2 separate regions of the Homo sapiens genome follow, and region 1 is linked to region 2. The links are contacts of gene promoters, found by promoter capture Hi-C in human tissues and cell types (Jung and others, 2019). All regions are on one chromosome and are shown on one strand. Each heading gives the region's core, a stretch centred on a gene start or on the middle of the fragment in contact. The rest is flanking DNA. Distances are from core to core; before and after follow the strand shown. Region 1 has its middle 21 kb from the start of MIR5703. Region 2 holds the start of CCL20 (C-C motif chemokine ligand 20).

Evidence for each region. The method cuts DNA at HindIII sites, captures the fragments that hold promoters and counts their contacts. A contact is called where the count stands out against the background at its distance.
Region 1: a contact is called between a fragment that was not itself captured here and the fragment with the promoter of CCL20 in region 2, in 2 of the 25 tissues and cell types used here (H1 embryonic stem cells and aorta).

The regions. Positions count from the first base shown.
Region 1 is chr2:227,447,357-227,455,178 of GRCh38, reverse strand. No RefSeq gene overlaps it. Among named protein-coding and RNA genes, the nearest start is that of MIR5703, 21 kb to the left of the region's middle. The HindIII fragment of the contact is 3,492 bases long and covers 2,998-6,489 here.
Region 2 is chr2:227,810,474-227,817,275 of GRCh38, reverse strand. CCL20 (C-C motif chemokine ligand 20) reads right to left here and starts at 3,434. Exons shown (of 4, transcript NM_004591.3): 1 at 3,289-3,434; 2 at 1,708-1,822; 3 at 892-969; 4 at 1-214. The coding sequence starts at 3,364. The coding sequence ends at 193. The HindIII fragment of the contact is 20,627 bases long and covers 1-6,802 here.

The DNA.
Region 1 (7,822 bases), core at 3,494-5,993, 360 kb after region 2:
CATCGAAGAGAAAGTCTGACACTTCTGGCCTGATGAAATTGTCTATAAAACTCTGAATTTGAGAGAGAGAGGAGGAAATTTCATGCAGAATAACATGCAAACTTGGCATCCATTGAGTCCTCATGATTCTTAAGGAAAGTGTTCATTTTTGTTGCAGTTTGTGTTTTAAAGACTGAAGGATGTTTATTATTTTCTTCAAGGTGCTTTGCAGACTTGCTTTTCACAGTCTAGATGCCAGCTTGATTAATTAAACATGCACACAATGACATTCTACTGTGCAAGCTTGAAAAATTGCTAGTCTAACCTTTTTAAGAAATGTACATAATTGCCAGGACCTGGTGAGAGGTGACACCAGATGAAAGCTTTTCTGGCAAAAGTCAAAGGTCAGCAGCATTTTGTGGACAGAGGAGGGGATTACCTTGCCCTCTTGGACCAGGTAGCCTCCTAAGAAAACACTGGCCTTATGTTTACATCTGGCCTGGACTTGCAAAATCTGGAACTCTCCTTCTTGCTGCCTTCATAATCAACAGGTATGAACTGGGCTCAGTGGTGAGGCCACCTCTCTGCAACTCAGTGACAACACTCTCCCTCTGGCCTTTTGTCTCCCCAGTTTTTCCATCACACAGGGCTCCTTTCCCACTGTGCCTCTGACCTATTCACACTACTTTCTCTCAGGAGGGGAAGACCCTAGGGTTTTCATTCATCATCTCTGCACCTATAATGCTTTTGGTTGCCTGTCTCCTCCATCCCTCTCACCCTCCAGCTCACTGTCCCATTCTGTTTATTTATTTTTATTTTTTTGGACACAGAGTCTTGCACTGTCCCCCAAGCTGGAATGCAGTGGAGTAATCATAGCTCACCGTAGCCTTGATCTCCTGGGCACAAGCCATCCTCACACCTCAGCCTCCCTAGTAGCTAGGACTACAGGCCCACACCCTCACACCCAGCTATTTTTTTTTAAGAGATGGAGTCTTTCTATGTTGCCCAGGCTGGTCTTGAATTCCTAGGCTCAAGCAATTCTCCTGCCTCCACCTCCCAAAGTGCTGGGATTATAGGCATGAGCCACTGCATTGGTCCCCACTGCCCCTTCTAAGTGGTGGTTATGAGCTGAGGCTCAGGAACCAGACTGTTTAGGTCTGGTCCTTGCTCTCCCCCAAATCATCTGTGAGACTATGGGTTAGTCTCTTCAACTCTGGTACCTCAGTCTTCTCATTTGCAAAATGGGGATGAAAATACCAACTGCGTTTTGGTATTAAATGAGTTAATACATGTAAAGTGCTTTGAACAGTGTGTGGCAAATATTGGCCATTGCTGCTATTATCTTCAAATGCAGAAATCTGTTTGTACATTGAGCCTCTGCTCAGATTCTAAATCTTCTATAAAGCCTTTCCAGACTTTTCGAACTAGACATAATGGTTCTTGCTTATTAATTTGAAGCCTTATAATACTAGGTGGGCACTTTTCTTATTCTTTGAAAAGGTACCATTTACTGAGCAACTAGACGTGACAGGTACTATGCCAATGCTTCATGTGTATTACCTCCTTTGTTCTCGAAAAATAGTTATTACTACTTCCATTTTACAGATGAGGAAACCAATACTCACAGAAGAAAAGCCACTTTTTTAGATTCACAAAGCAAACATAATTAAACTTATTTTTAAACGTAACTTAAAAGGCCATGTGCAGTGGCTCACACCTGTAATTCCAGCACTTTGGGAAGCCAAGGCGGGCAGATCACTTGAGGTCAGGAGTTCAAGACCAACCTGGCCAACATGGTGAAACCCCGTCTCTACTAAAAATACAAAAATTAGCCAGGCATGGGGGCACGTGCCTGTAATCCCAGCTGCTCGGGAGGCTGAGGCAGGAGAATCACTTGAACCCCAGGAGCAGAGGTTGCAGTGAGCCGAGATTGCACCACTGCACTCCAGCCTGGGTGACACAGTAAGTCTCTGCCTGGAAAAAAAAAAAAAGAAGGAAGGAAGGAAACTTAAAGGTTAAGGCCTGGTGTGGCTCATGCCTGTAATCCCAGCACTTTGGGAGGCTGAGGTGGGCGGACCACTTGAGGTCAAGAGTTTGAGACCAGCCTGGCCAACATGGTAAAACCCTGTCTCTACTAAAAATGGAAAAATTAGCCGGGCATAGTGGCAGGTGCCTGTAATCCCAGCTACTCGGGAGACTGAGGCAGGAGAATTGCTTGAGCCAGGGAGGCAGAGGTTGCAGTGAGCCAAGATCGCGTGATCTTGGCTAGGTGACAGAGCCTAGGTGACAGAGCAAGACTCCATCTCAAAAAAAAAAAAAAAAAAAAAAGGTTAAATACTCTGCAAAGGCAAGGTCAGCATCTCTTAAATTTCTGTCCTCTGCATCTCATATGGAGAAGATGTTCGTAAACACCAAGTGCTGATTTCAATGAATGTGGCAGAGTCTGGTGATATAGGAAGAAGGGTTGGTATTTGTATAGTATTGTATACAGTGCATTTTCTCATGCATTATCTCATTAAAATCTCACAAAAATTCTGGGAAATATGTATTGTTATTGTCTCAATTTTTCAGATAGGAGACTGAGAGGCGAAGACTTGGCTTTCCCCAAACCAAACTGCCAGTAGTGGCATAGCCCAAACTCAAATGCCATCTTTTTCCAGGTGCTGTCCAGTAGACCACCATGGCCTTCCCCCACCGATACCAGCTGAGACTCAAATTCTGGTATATAGTCCTGGTGACAAAATAAACTTCATATAAGATTCAAATCCTGCAAAAGGACAATAACCACAAATTAGCAGAAAATATGACATTGTTTTGCCAGAGTTTCAGATCTTCAAAAAAAGGAAGACAGAGAGACCCTAAGCCAGGCTAAGTTAAAGAAATCTAATTCCCATTCTGTGGGAGAAAATATTCAGTTCAAATAGTTCTTTTAATCAAAATGCTTATTTATATAAAATAACAAGCCAATAGGGGTTTCTTTAAAAAAAAAAGAAAAAAAAAAAAAACCTCTGAATGTTGGCCAGGCATGGTGGCTCATGCCTGTAATCCCAGCACTTTGGGTGGCCAAGGCAGGTGGGTCACCTGAGGTCAGGAGTTCAAGACCAGCCTGGCCAACATGGTGAAACCTCATTTCTACTAAAAATAGAAAAAATTATCTGGGCATGGTGGCAGGCGCCTGTAATCCCAGCTACTCAGGAGGCTGAGGCAGGACAATCACTTGAACCCAGGAGGCAGAGGTTGCAGTGAGCCAAGATTACACCATTGCACTCAAGCCTGGGTGACAGAGTGAGACTCCAAAGAAAAAAAAAAAAGAAAAAAAAAAAGAACTCCAAGTGTTGTCCATCCTCATTTGTAAGAATTTACTTCTGGAGCATTATCCTTTTCAGAAAGGTCAGGTGTAATGTCATTTTAACATCTCTCTGGCAGTGATCCCTACAAAGGGGTTGGATTTACATAATGTAATCATTTTTATATTTCTGAATGTGCAAGTGGAGGTTGGTGTGTTATACAGCAGAGAAGGGAGATAAAAAGAATGCTGTGTATTTAGTAACATGCCCCATTTCAATAAGCCAGTGTTTCTTAGGGAGTTTGTTCACTGCGGATATGTAGAAAGATATGGAAGCAGAAACGCTGACACATGTTTGCAAAGAGAATGATTGCAACATTAGTCCAGGGAGTTGATCTATAACAGGCCTTTGCCTTTCTTCACCTAGGACTGCTGATGGGGTTGGAAAGGAGCTGAACGACATTATCTCACCCTCCAGATGGACTCACTCTGGGTAGAACAAATATCAGACACCAACATGATATCTAATGGGTCATTCATTTAAATTGTTATCTGCTAAACAGTGTACAAAGTCCCGAGCCATGTGGTGTGGGGAATGGAACAAGGAACCAGGTGCAAGTCCTTTCCACAAAGGACTTTTATATAATAAAATGGAATAAAAAAGGAAACACAAAAGATCTTAAAACAAGACAGAAAGTGAAGTGTCACAAGAGGGGTGAGATAATTCACTAAGGCAGTTCACAGGAAGGCATGAGTCCCTCAGTCTTGAAGGATAAGGGAAGGGAGACTTCTTGGAGGAAGTAGCAGTTAAGATGGGCAGGATTTGGAGTGCACATGGCGCTGGGAGGAAAGAACATCTCAGGCAGAGGAAGCAACCTGGGCTAGGGCTGGTAGTGGAAAATGCAGTAGCCAGAAAATAGAGAGTTCAGTTTATAGTATAGCATGCTTGAAGGTCAGATTATTACTGGTTTTTAACTTTTAACACTAATTTCTGTTAATGGGGTTTAGAAAGCACTCAGAAGGGTGTCTTTCAGTTAAGTGAAATCCTTACAAATTAGCCACTCATTGGTCTGACCCCCTCTTAACTCGCCTAGTAGAAGATGTTTTCTGATCTGTAAAGTCACATGGGCAGTGCAGCCAGGGAGCCAAAGTCACCCACTAGGAGCCATCCATGGAATAATGTTTAGCTTTTACGACTGAAAACCTGTCCTTGGTTGGTACAATCTGAATTTTTTTCCAAGCTATGGAGAAGCTAGTAAAATCTACACTCTCTTCTTTATAGCACTTGCTAAGTCAACTGTTTGATTTCAAATATTTAATTAAACATTAACAGTATGCAATACTTGTACTGCCTGTCCACACCTTATGCTTTATTTCACAATCCAGATGCATTGAATCAACTTTTCTTCTATGTGTGAATGCTGTCAGAAAAAAAAGGAAGGAAAGAAGAAAGGAAACGGGGGGGGGGGGGAGGGATAAAAAAATAGTATACTTTTTGTACCCATTTCAATTTCTGCATTTCATAATTCAGTTGAATCTAGGAAGCATAGTGCGGTATTTTTCCCAAACAGGAAATAAGTAACGTGTTTTACTGCCAAGTTGACCGTATAGATTCAGCTGTGATTTTTAAGCCACCTGGTAGCATATTTCGAGATTTCTCCTTTTGTCACTATATCTTAACTCCATCCATGCATGGATGTATACTGGACTTGAATACAATAAAAAGAATGATTTTTACTTCTCCTTGAATCATGGAGTTTTCTGCTTTATGAAAAATGTATATCACAATGTTATGTCTGGTCCATGCTACTAAAAAAGAATCTTTCTTCAGGACGATTTGACCCTGTTCCCATTGTTTTCTCAGCATGTTTTCAGCATCAGCGCATTGATTATGCTGTCATTGTCCAGAATACTGAGACAGAAAAGAAGATCTATTAGATCATCAAAGACCTGGAGCAGGCCCAGGTCTCCAGAGAGAGCCTGTGACATGCTGTCTTAGGCAAATGACGGAGGAAAATTTAGAGCCACGTAAAATTTTAGGCAGGCTCTGTCCCAGTTTTTAATTTTTGAAAGTTTCTGAAATAAATCTCAGAGAGACACAGTTCATAAAACAGTTTCACTGCTGAATTTAGGTTAGTAGTTCTCAACTGGGGGCAATTTTGACCCCCTGGGGATATTTAGCAATATCTGGAGACTTTTTTTGATTGTCACATATCAAGGAAAGGGGTTGCTACTGGTTGGGTAGAGGCCAGGAAGGCTGCCAAACCTCCTACAGTTCCCAGTACAACCCCACGACAAAGAGTTATCCAGCCTGAAATGTCAATGGTGCCAACGTTAAAAAACCCCAATTTAGGTCTTTTCCTAAGCTTTTTTTTTTTCCTGCTGCTTATCTATTCACTGCCCCAAACAAAGCAGATTACTTGACTGATTAAATGACTCTGAGGAGCACACACTATTTTGAAATAAACCGTTTCAAACACAATTTTTACTAATTCTATTTCTTTCTTTCTTTCTTTCTTTCTTTCTTTTTTTTTTTTTTTTGAGATGGAGTCTCGCTCTGTTGCTCAAACTAGAGTGCAGTGGCACGATCTCGGGTCACTGCAACCTCTGCCTCCCAGGTTGAAGCAATTCTTCTGCCTCAGCCTCCTAAGTAGCTGGGGCTACAGGCGTGCACCACCACACCCGGCTAATTTTTGTATTTTTAGTAGAGATGGGTTTTCACCATGTTGGCCAGGCTGGTCTCAAACTCCTGACCTCAGGTGATCCACCCACCTCGGCCCCCCGAAGTGCTGGGATTACAGGCGCGAGCCACCGTGCCCAGCCTATTAATTATATTTTTTAGTCCCAAGATAAGCAAGCATTAACAATCACACAGAGAAACAAAATTATATTTTCTAGTTATTCTAAAATTAGGATTGTGTTGAGTTTAGTAAGACTCCAGATTAACCAAATAACTTTCGAGAAACCCAAGGAAAAAAGCCATTAAATGTAGAAGGGAAAAAAACTGCTTGCCTCAATCATTAGGGCCCTGTTGTTAATCAGAAGCTTGTATTCTTGTTTCTACATATTCAAGTTTGTATAGGCAGAGCAGAGTCAAGCAAAGTCAAAGAGTTAAAAGTGAAAAACTTTTCATAGCAAACAAATATCTCAAGAATATTCAAGAGGTACCCCCACCCCAAATTATACTCTCCATTTTTTAAAGGGGAGAATTCAATTTCTTAGGAAAAAAGAATATACGGTGAATGGAGTGATACAATAAGAGAAGGTTAAAGAAAAAGGCAAGGAGAGGGAGAAAAGAAAGGGAAGGGAAGAGGGGAAAGGAAGGGAAGAGGAAAGGAAAGGCTAGGGCATATTTTTTTTTTTTTTTTTCCTGCAGGTTTGGAAGGACTTTGGCTAACAGAAGCTTCCTGAGTGGTTGTTCCATCCCCAACTTTTTGTGGAATCTGGCACTGGCCTTGGTGTCATCTATAATATAGATTTCAATGCTAAATGTCAGGAGGAAAATGGATAGGGCAGTGTGCTTTATGAACTGTTACCAAAATACTAGCATCGAAAAAGCAAGCAGCAATTACAAACAATAGGCTTAAGGTTATCACGTCATCATATTTTTGCTTGCTTCAAGTTTGTAGTTTTGTGAATCTAACCTAAATTAATATTTTCAAAGACCACAAGGTTGTTACCCATTAATTCCAGGTTAGAGCAGACATTTTGAAAGTATGGGAAGCAAGCTGGATCCGCTGAGAATCCTTGTTAAATACGGTTTTTTAATAATGTGTTGATATCATTATAGGAATAATGCTTGTATACTTGAAACATTGAATACATTTACTCTTCAGCCTATTGGAGAGTTATCCCTTCCTTGAAGTCTGGCCTTGATTATGACATTCTTTTGTTTCTGCTCCCTCCCCACCCCCGACAGAATCAAGATTGGACTTTACTGCACTGTTGAGCTAATCTGAATTAAAATCTGTCACTTGTGTTCAGTCACGACTCCGTTACATTTCCTAATGAGCCGTGCCTGATCTTTGGGCATTTCTCAGGGTATTTATGAGAAGGGTGCAGCTAAGGCTTAGTGGAGACTCCGTGGTGATATTTAGTATGTGAAGCATCTGTACAAAGCATACAGTTGAGAATGTTCATCGTTTATTGTTGTTAAACTTAGTCACTCACATTCCTTCCCTACTGAATGAGGCTTCCAAGGACACCTCAAACACAAATTCATCACAGGGAAGACAGTTGCACTGAACATTAGCAGAACTAAGAATCGATGCATCAGGTCCTAACTGGAGATATATTTAATACACTTTTTCCTTAGTTTTGTTTTACTTGTAAAGATTACAATAGTCGGCCGGCCACAGTGGTGCACACCTGTAATCCCAGCAGTTTGGGAGGCTGAGGCGGGCAGATCGCCTGAGGTCAGCAGTTCGAGACCAGCCTGACTAACATGGTGAAACCCCATCTCTACTAAATATAAGAAATTAGCGGGGCGTGGTGGTACATGCCTGTAATCCCAGCTACTTGGGAGGCTGAGGCAAGAGAATTGTTTGAACCCGGGAG
Region 2 (6,802 bases), core at 2,185-4,684:
CTTTAATGTGATGCTTAAACAAAGCAAACTATGATGCAATATGAATCAACTTCATTAATTGGACAAGTCCAGTGAGGCACAAATTAGATAAGCACTAAACCCTCCATGATGTGCAAGTGAAACCTCCAACCCCAGCAAGGTTCTTTCTGTTCTTGGGCTATGTCCAATTCCATTCCAGAAAAGCCACAGTTTTTACATGTTCTTGACTTTTTTACTGTAAAATGAAAAAGAAGAAAAGTGTAAGTAATGACAAGGTGACTGCATGGTGGGAATGACTTTGGTACCTAAAGGTTGCTTCACCTGCCCTTAATCTCAACTCAGTATGTCAAGCAGCTCAGAGTTCAGATGAGGAAATTGAGGTTTAGAGAGGATGGCCCTTGCCCAACCTAACTCAGCTCATTAATGACAGAAACAGGCTATGGACACTTATCTTGTGTCTCCAAGTTCAGTATCTATGGCATGCTGGTGTTAGGTGCCTTCTGTCCATTGATAAAGTGTTACTGTCTATTATTGTCAACGTAAATCAGAACCATTGATCTCTGTTTAACTAATGTTCATTTTTCAGTTTTTAACAAACAACCAAATGCCAGATTGCCTTTAAATTATATAAATAGTAGGCATCTTTGCAACAAGAATCAGGCAGCTAGTAACTATCAAATGCATAGAGAAATCTAATACATCATGTAAGAAATCACTAAATTAAAATAATAATAACGATGATGATCTGTAAGTGGAAAAATGCATTCTTTGTTTTTGTGGTCCAACTCAAATTTTCCCTTTAAAAATTCCACAATAGTTAAACTAAAGAATCCCAGAAAACCTACGGCCCACCCCTTTGCACACTCCTCTTTCCTCAAACATTTGCAAAGGCTAAATGTCAGTGTAACATACCTGAGGAGACGCACAATATATTTCACCCAAGTCTGTTTTGGATTTGCGCACACAGACAACTTTTTCTTTGTGTGAAAGCTGAAAAATCAGAAAATTTGATTTGTGTTTAATGAGCTTTTCAATGGGTTTTTCATAGAACATACAATGGAAATTTTATATTCCAGTTGATTACACACTAAACATTTCAGTTGATGAGGTAAAATAAAATGCACAAAAAATGCTTCTGATGAAGATTAATGCAAAATCAAAGTGATTCTCTCTTTCTCTGCAATGTAACAAATAATAGTACAATGGCAGGAAGATAAAGTCCCAGAATTGTCATATAATTTTGCTATTGGTGGTTACATAGAATATGTATGTATCTGATCAATAACTTGTATAATTCCAAAATATAATATCCTATATAAATCAAGAAAATTATATGTGATAGTATAATTAGTCTGAGATTTTACTTTTGGTCTCAAACACTTTCTGGTAGAAGATGCTCATTTCGAAATGTGTATCTTCCCTATTTTCCTAATATATCACTTTAATAGCCTTAGAAAGTGATTTTTGCCCTATACTAGTTCCGTTTGACCAAAAAAAATTTTTAAAAAAGGTTTTGCCTTATTCCAGTCCTGTTTAAAGTGAACTTTAAAGTAGATATGTACTAAGACAAAGCTATCTTTGCCACATCATTTCTTTCTCTTTAAAATAAGATCTTATGTTCAAAACATCAGTAATTTCTGAATGAAACTCTAAAAAGGCAAACATTTTTAAAACTGAAGTTTCTAGGTATTCCTGATACAACTGAATTAAAATCAATTAATAACTTACATGATAGCATTGATGTCACAGCCTTCATTGGCCAGCTGCCGTGTGAAGCCCACAATAAATTTAGGATGAAGAATACGGTCTGTGTATCCAAGACAGCAGTCAAAGTTGCTTGCTGCTAAAAAAAAAAAAAAGTGAAAGGTATTGGATCCACATGAATAAACTTATCCTGTGATTGGTATTATAAAACTACCTTAAGTTGTGAAAAATCTAGTGAATCTCATGTATATGACGAATAAACCACTTAGAGGAGGAGTTTCAATGTCTTGGAAACCTTTGTAAGGTCGTTGAGAACCAATCTAACATAGTTTACAGTTCTTTGAAAAAACAGTTTGTGTGCCGAGAAGTTTTGGTTCAATAATAGAATTGAGAAACACAGGACTTCTCATAAGTGGGATATCTTCAGTAAGAAATACAAATTGACAATATTTCATTTCAGTTCACTATAATCATTCAAGAATATGAGCAGCCCCTTCCCTACTGCTTGAAGGAACCCTTATGTAGATAAACTTCCAAAAGCAGAAAATGAATAAATTGGCAGATTTTAATCTATTATCTGGCTACTAAGTATTGAGAAATAGAGCTACAAAGGGAAATATGATTTATAGGAGTGAAAACACTTTGAAATTGTCCTATTAATTAATAGGAATGTTTAATTTTGTTCATAAAAGTTCAACATGTGGTTGGGCATGGTGGCTCATGCCTGTAATCCCAGCACTTTGGGAGGCCAAGGAGGAAGGATTGCTTGCCTCCAGGAGTTCGAGACCAGCCTGGGCAACACAGTGAAACCCTGTCTCTACAAAAAAAAAAAAAATGTAAAAAAATTAGCCAGGTGAGTGGCACACGGCCGTGGTCCCTGTTATTCAAGAGGCTGAGACTGGAGGTTCACTTGACTCCAGGAGGTTGAGGCTGTAGTGAGCTGTAATCATGCCACTGCACTCTGGCCTGGGTGATGAAGTTAGACCCTGCCTCAGAAAAAAAAAAAAATTCAATGTGCATTTTTAGGAATGCACCTGTTGCTAAAAGTGTTGTGTGACTATTGAGCAATAAAGCAATACTTGGACATTCCCGAGTCAGATTACAACATGCTGTAAGGTAAGGGATTAATGTTATTTTAAAGTTGGCAAGCAATGTCCCCCATGCCTTGTGGGGATGTTGATGTCAGGTATTATAATCTACTTCTAAAGGATGAGTTTTGAACTTTACCAAAACTATTAAGTTGGGAGGTACGAAAGTTGGGGACACAGGAGGATTCTCTACATTTCAAAATGGCCCCATCTACTGGTAACATTACACACTTTATATCACTCCCAGAAACATCACTTTGGCTTTATCCTGAAGTTTAGGGATCTCTAAGAGCCCACCACTCCCCAAATCTGCTGAGATTGACAGCAGAGAGGAAAGCCTGATCCGCAGCAGTAACTCTTCTCTCCTCCACTCCACCATGGGCAGACAACTTCCATCACTACCTCTTGTATACTTCCTAACAGTTTTCCATCCCTTAGGGACCCCCAGTTGAGCTCAAGGCTAAAAGGAAAATGAAAATAGTCTTTCTTCTGTGCTAGCGGAAAGAGCGACACTTACCTTCTGATTCGCCGCAGAGGTGGAGTAGCAGCACTGACATCAAAGCAGCCAGGAGCAAACTCTTGGTACAGCACATGGTTTTTAGCTCAAAGAACAGATCTGCTCAGTGTTGAGTACCCAGTTCTTTGGGAGTGCTGTTATATTCTGACAGCAGCCTGGGATGGCCCTATTTATAGCAAATATTGGGAATGTACACAGAAGGCGTGTTGCCACATGGGGTTTTCCCCATTGATCAACTGGCCCCATCATGTCATCATAAAAAAAACCCGCAAGGAAAACTTCCTGCTTTTTCCTCATATTGGGAAGGTGCGAAGGTCAGGGTGGGGGACAGGAAGTTGAGAAGGGGAGAATCCTGTTAAATTCTTTGTATTTGCAAAGAGCAAAAGCAGCTCAGCCCTGTGACCCAGAAAAGACTTTCATCCAGTTTTAACTTAATCATTTTTGTGTCTGAAAATAGAGGATTAACAGCGATACAAAGGTCAGCCCCACACAGGAACATTCCAGAACTCCTATTGTTACACCCTATTTGCTTTCCAGAACCAGTCAAGGAGGAGGGGGAGGAGGAGCAGGTGGGATGCCAGGCATACTCTGCTACACATTTACCATCACATGGTTGAGGTTCAGCTGTCATGAAGAAGACCCTGAGTTGCTAGACTAACATTCAGAGCAGGTACTATAACAGTGCTACAGTACTGTCCGCAGTTAGAGTGGAAAATATCAGCCTTTAAGTAAGGCTCAAACCTCAGCTTCACCTTGATTTAATGTCAACTCTTCTAAGAATCTTATACATTCACATGGCTTTAATCAATATTGCAGTTCAGAAAATAATCCTTACCTACCTTTAACTCTCCATGATGATGTACTAATATAACTCAATATAGAGCCTCAGAATTGTTGAGGAAAGAAAACCTATCAGCAGTAGCTAGTCAGCACAGCAAATGTCAAATAACAGTACTAATGATGATAATGTAATATGAATCCCTAACCTAAGGCAGTATAAGAACTCTCCACTAGACCCAAATAGGTTGAAAGTAAAAGGATCAAAAGAAAGGTATACCAAACAGTAAACAAAAGAGAACTGGAGTTGGTGATGCCTATATCAGACAAAATAGATTTTTTTTTAATGTTACCGGAAATAAAAAGGGACTTTCATGGTAACACAAAATTAACCCATTGGGAAGATGTAAAACCTATAACCATATATATACCTAACAGTAGCACCCCAAACTACAGAAAGCAAAAACTGACAGAATTGAAGGGAAGAATAGGAAATTTTATTTTATTTTATTATTATAATTTCTTTTGAGACAGAATTTTGCTCTTGTTGCCCAGGCTGGAGTGCAGTGGCACCATCTCGGCTCACTACAACCTCCGCCTCCTGGGTTCAAGCGATTCGCCTGCCTCAGCCTCCTGAGTAGCTGGGACTACAGGCACGTGCCACCACGCCCAGCGAATTTTTGTATTTTTAGTAGAGACGTGGTTTCACCATGTTGCCCAGGCTGAACTCCTGACCTCATTACAGGCATGAGCCACCGTGCCCAGCAGAATAGGAAATTTAACAATAAAAGTTGACAGCTTTGGTACCACATTTTCACTAATTAATAAAATTTAGGCAGAAGATCCACAAGAAAATAGAAGACTTGAACAACACTATAAGCCAAATAGACTTAGCAGGCATCGAAGGACTACTCTATCCAACATCAACAGAATAGTTGCACATGGAATGTTCTCTAGGATAAAGCATATGGTAGGTTATGGAACAAGTCTCAGTAAATGTAAACCGACTGAAATCACATAAAGTATACATTCAAACCACAATGGAATTAAATCAGAAATCAGTAACAGACAGAAAGGAAACCACATATTCCTAAATAACCAATGTGTCTGGCCAGGAGTGGTGGCTCATGCCTGTAATCCTAGCATTTTGGGAGGCCGAGGTGGGTGGACTGCCTGAGGTCAGGAGTTCGAGACCAGACTGGCCAACATAGTGAAACCCTGTCTCTACTAAAAATACAAATATTAGCCGGGTGTGGTAGTCCATGCCTGTAATCCCAGCTACTTGGGAGGCTGAGGCAGGAGAATCGCATGAGCCCAGGAAGCAGAAGTTACGGCGAGCCGAGATCACGCTACTGCCCTCTAACCTGGCCAACAGAGACTCCATCTCAAAGGAAAAAACAACAACAACAACAACAATGTGTCAAAAGAAAAGTCACTAGAGAAAGTAGAAAACAACTTTGAAATGTAAAAAAAAGTCCACAACATATCAAAACTTATAGGATGTAGCAAAAGCAGTCCTCAGAAGGAAACTTATAGCTGTAAACACTCACATTAAAAAAAAAAAAAAAGAAACATCTCAAAACAATAACCCAAACTTCTACCTTAAGAAACTAGAGAAAAGCAGAGCAAGCTAAACCCAAAGCATGCAGAAGGAGGGAAATGAAGATTAGAGCAGGAATAAATAAAACAGAGAATGCAAAACAATAGAGGAAATCAACGAATGCGAAAGTTAGTTCTTTGAGAAGATCAACAAAACTAACAAGCCTTGACTAGACCAAACCAAACAAAGGAAAGGGAGGTAAAAAAAAAAAAAAAAAAAAAAAAACTGTATGCAAATAAAATTACTATGCCGACAGCACAGTAAAAAGATCATACACCATAACCAAGTGGGATTTATTCCAGGAAATGTAATACAACAAATCAATCAAATAAAAAATAAAAATGATTTGAAAAGCAACTGACAAAATCCAACACGTTGTCATGACAAAAACACTCAACTAACTAGGAATAGTTGAGAACTTTCTCAACCTGATAAAAGTCATCTATGACCACCTCACAGCTGATACGAATAGAGATGAAAGACACAAATTATTGACCCTGATTCAAGAAGAAAATAGAAAATTTGGGATGGGCGTGGTGGCTCATGCCTGTAATCCCAGCACTTTGGGAGGCCAAGGCGGAAGGAGCACAAGGTCAGGAGATCGAGACCATCCTGGCTAACATGGTGAAACCCTGTCTCTACTAAAAATGCAAAAAATTAGCCTGGTGTGGTAGCGGGCACCTGTGATCCCAGCTACTAGGGAGGCTGAGGCAGGAGAATGGCGTGAACCCGGGAGGTAGAGGTTGCAGTGAACCAAGATCGTGTCATTGTACTCCAGCCTGGGCGACACAGCAAGACTCCATCTCAAAAAAAAAATAGAAAATTTGAATAGAGCTATAACAAGTAAAGATATCAAATTGATAACCAAATATTTTTCACAAATAAAACCTCAGGACCAGATTAATTCACTGGTTAATTCTACAAAACATTCAAATAAGAATTAATACCAGTTCTTCACAAACTTTTTCAAAGTATAGAAGAGAAGGGAACCCTCTTCAACTTCTTCTATGAGGACAGTATTATCCTGACACCAAAATAAGATAAACACATCACAAGAAAAGAAAACAACAGACCAATGTCCTTTCCGAATACAAACACAAAAACAAAACAACATAGTAAAAGGACCATACACCATAA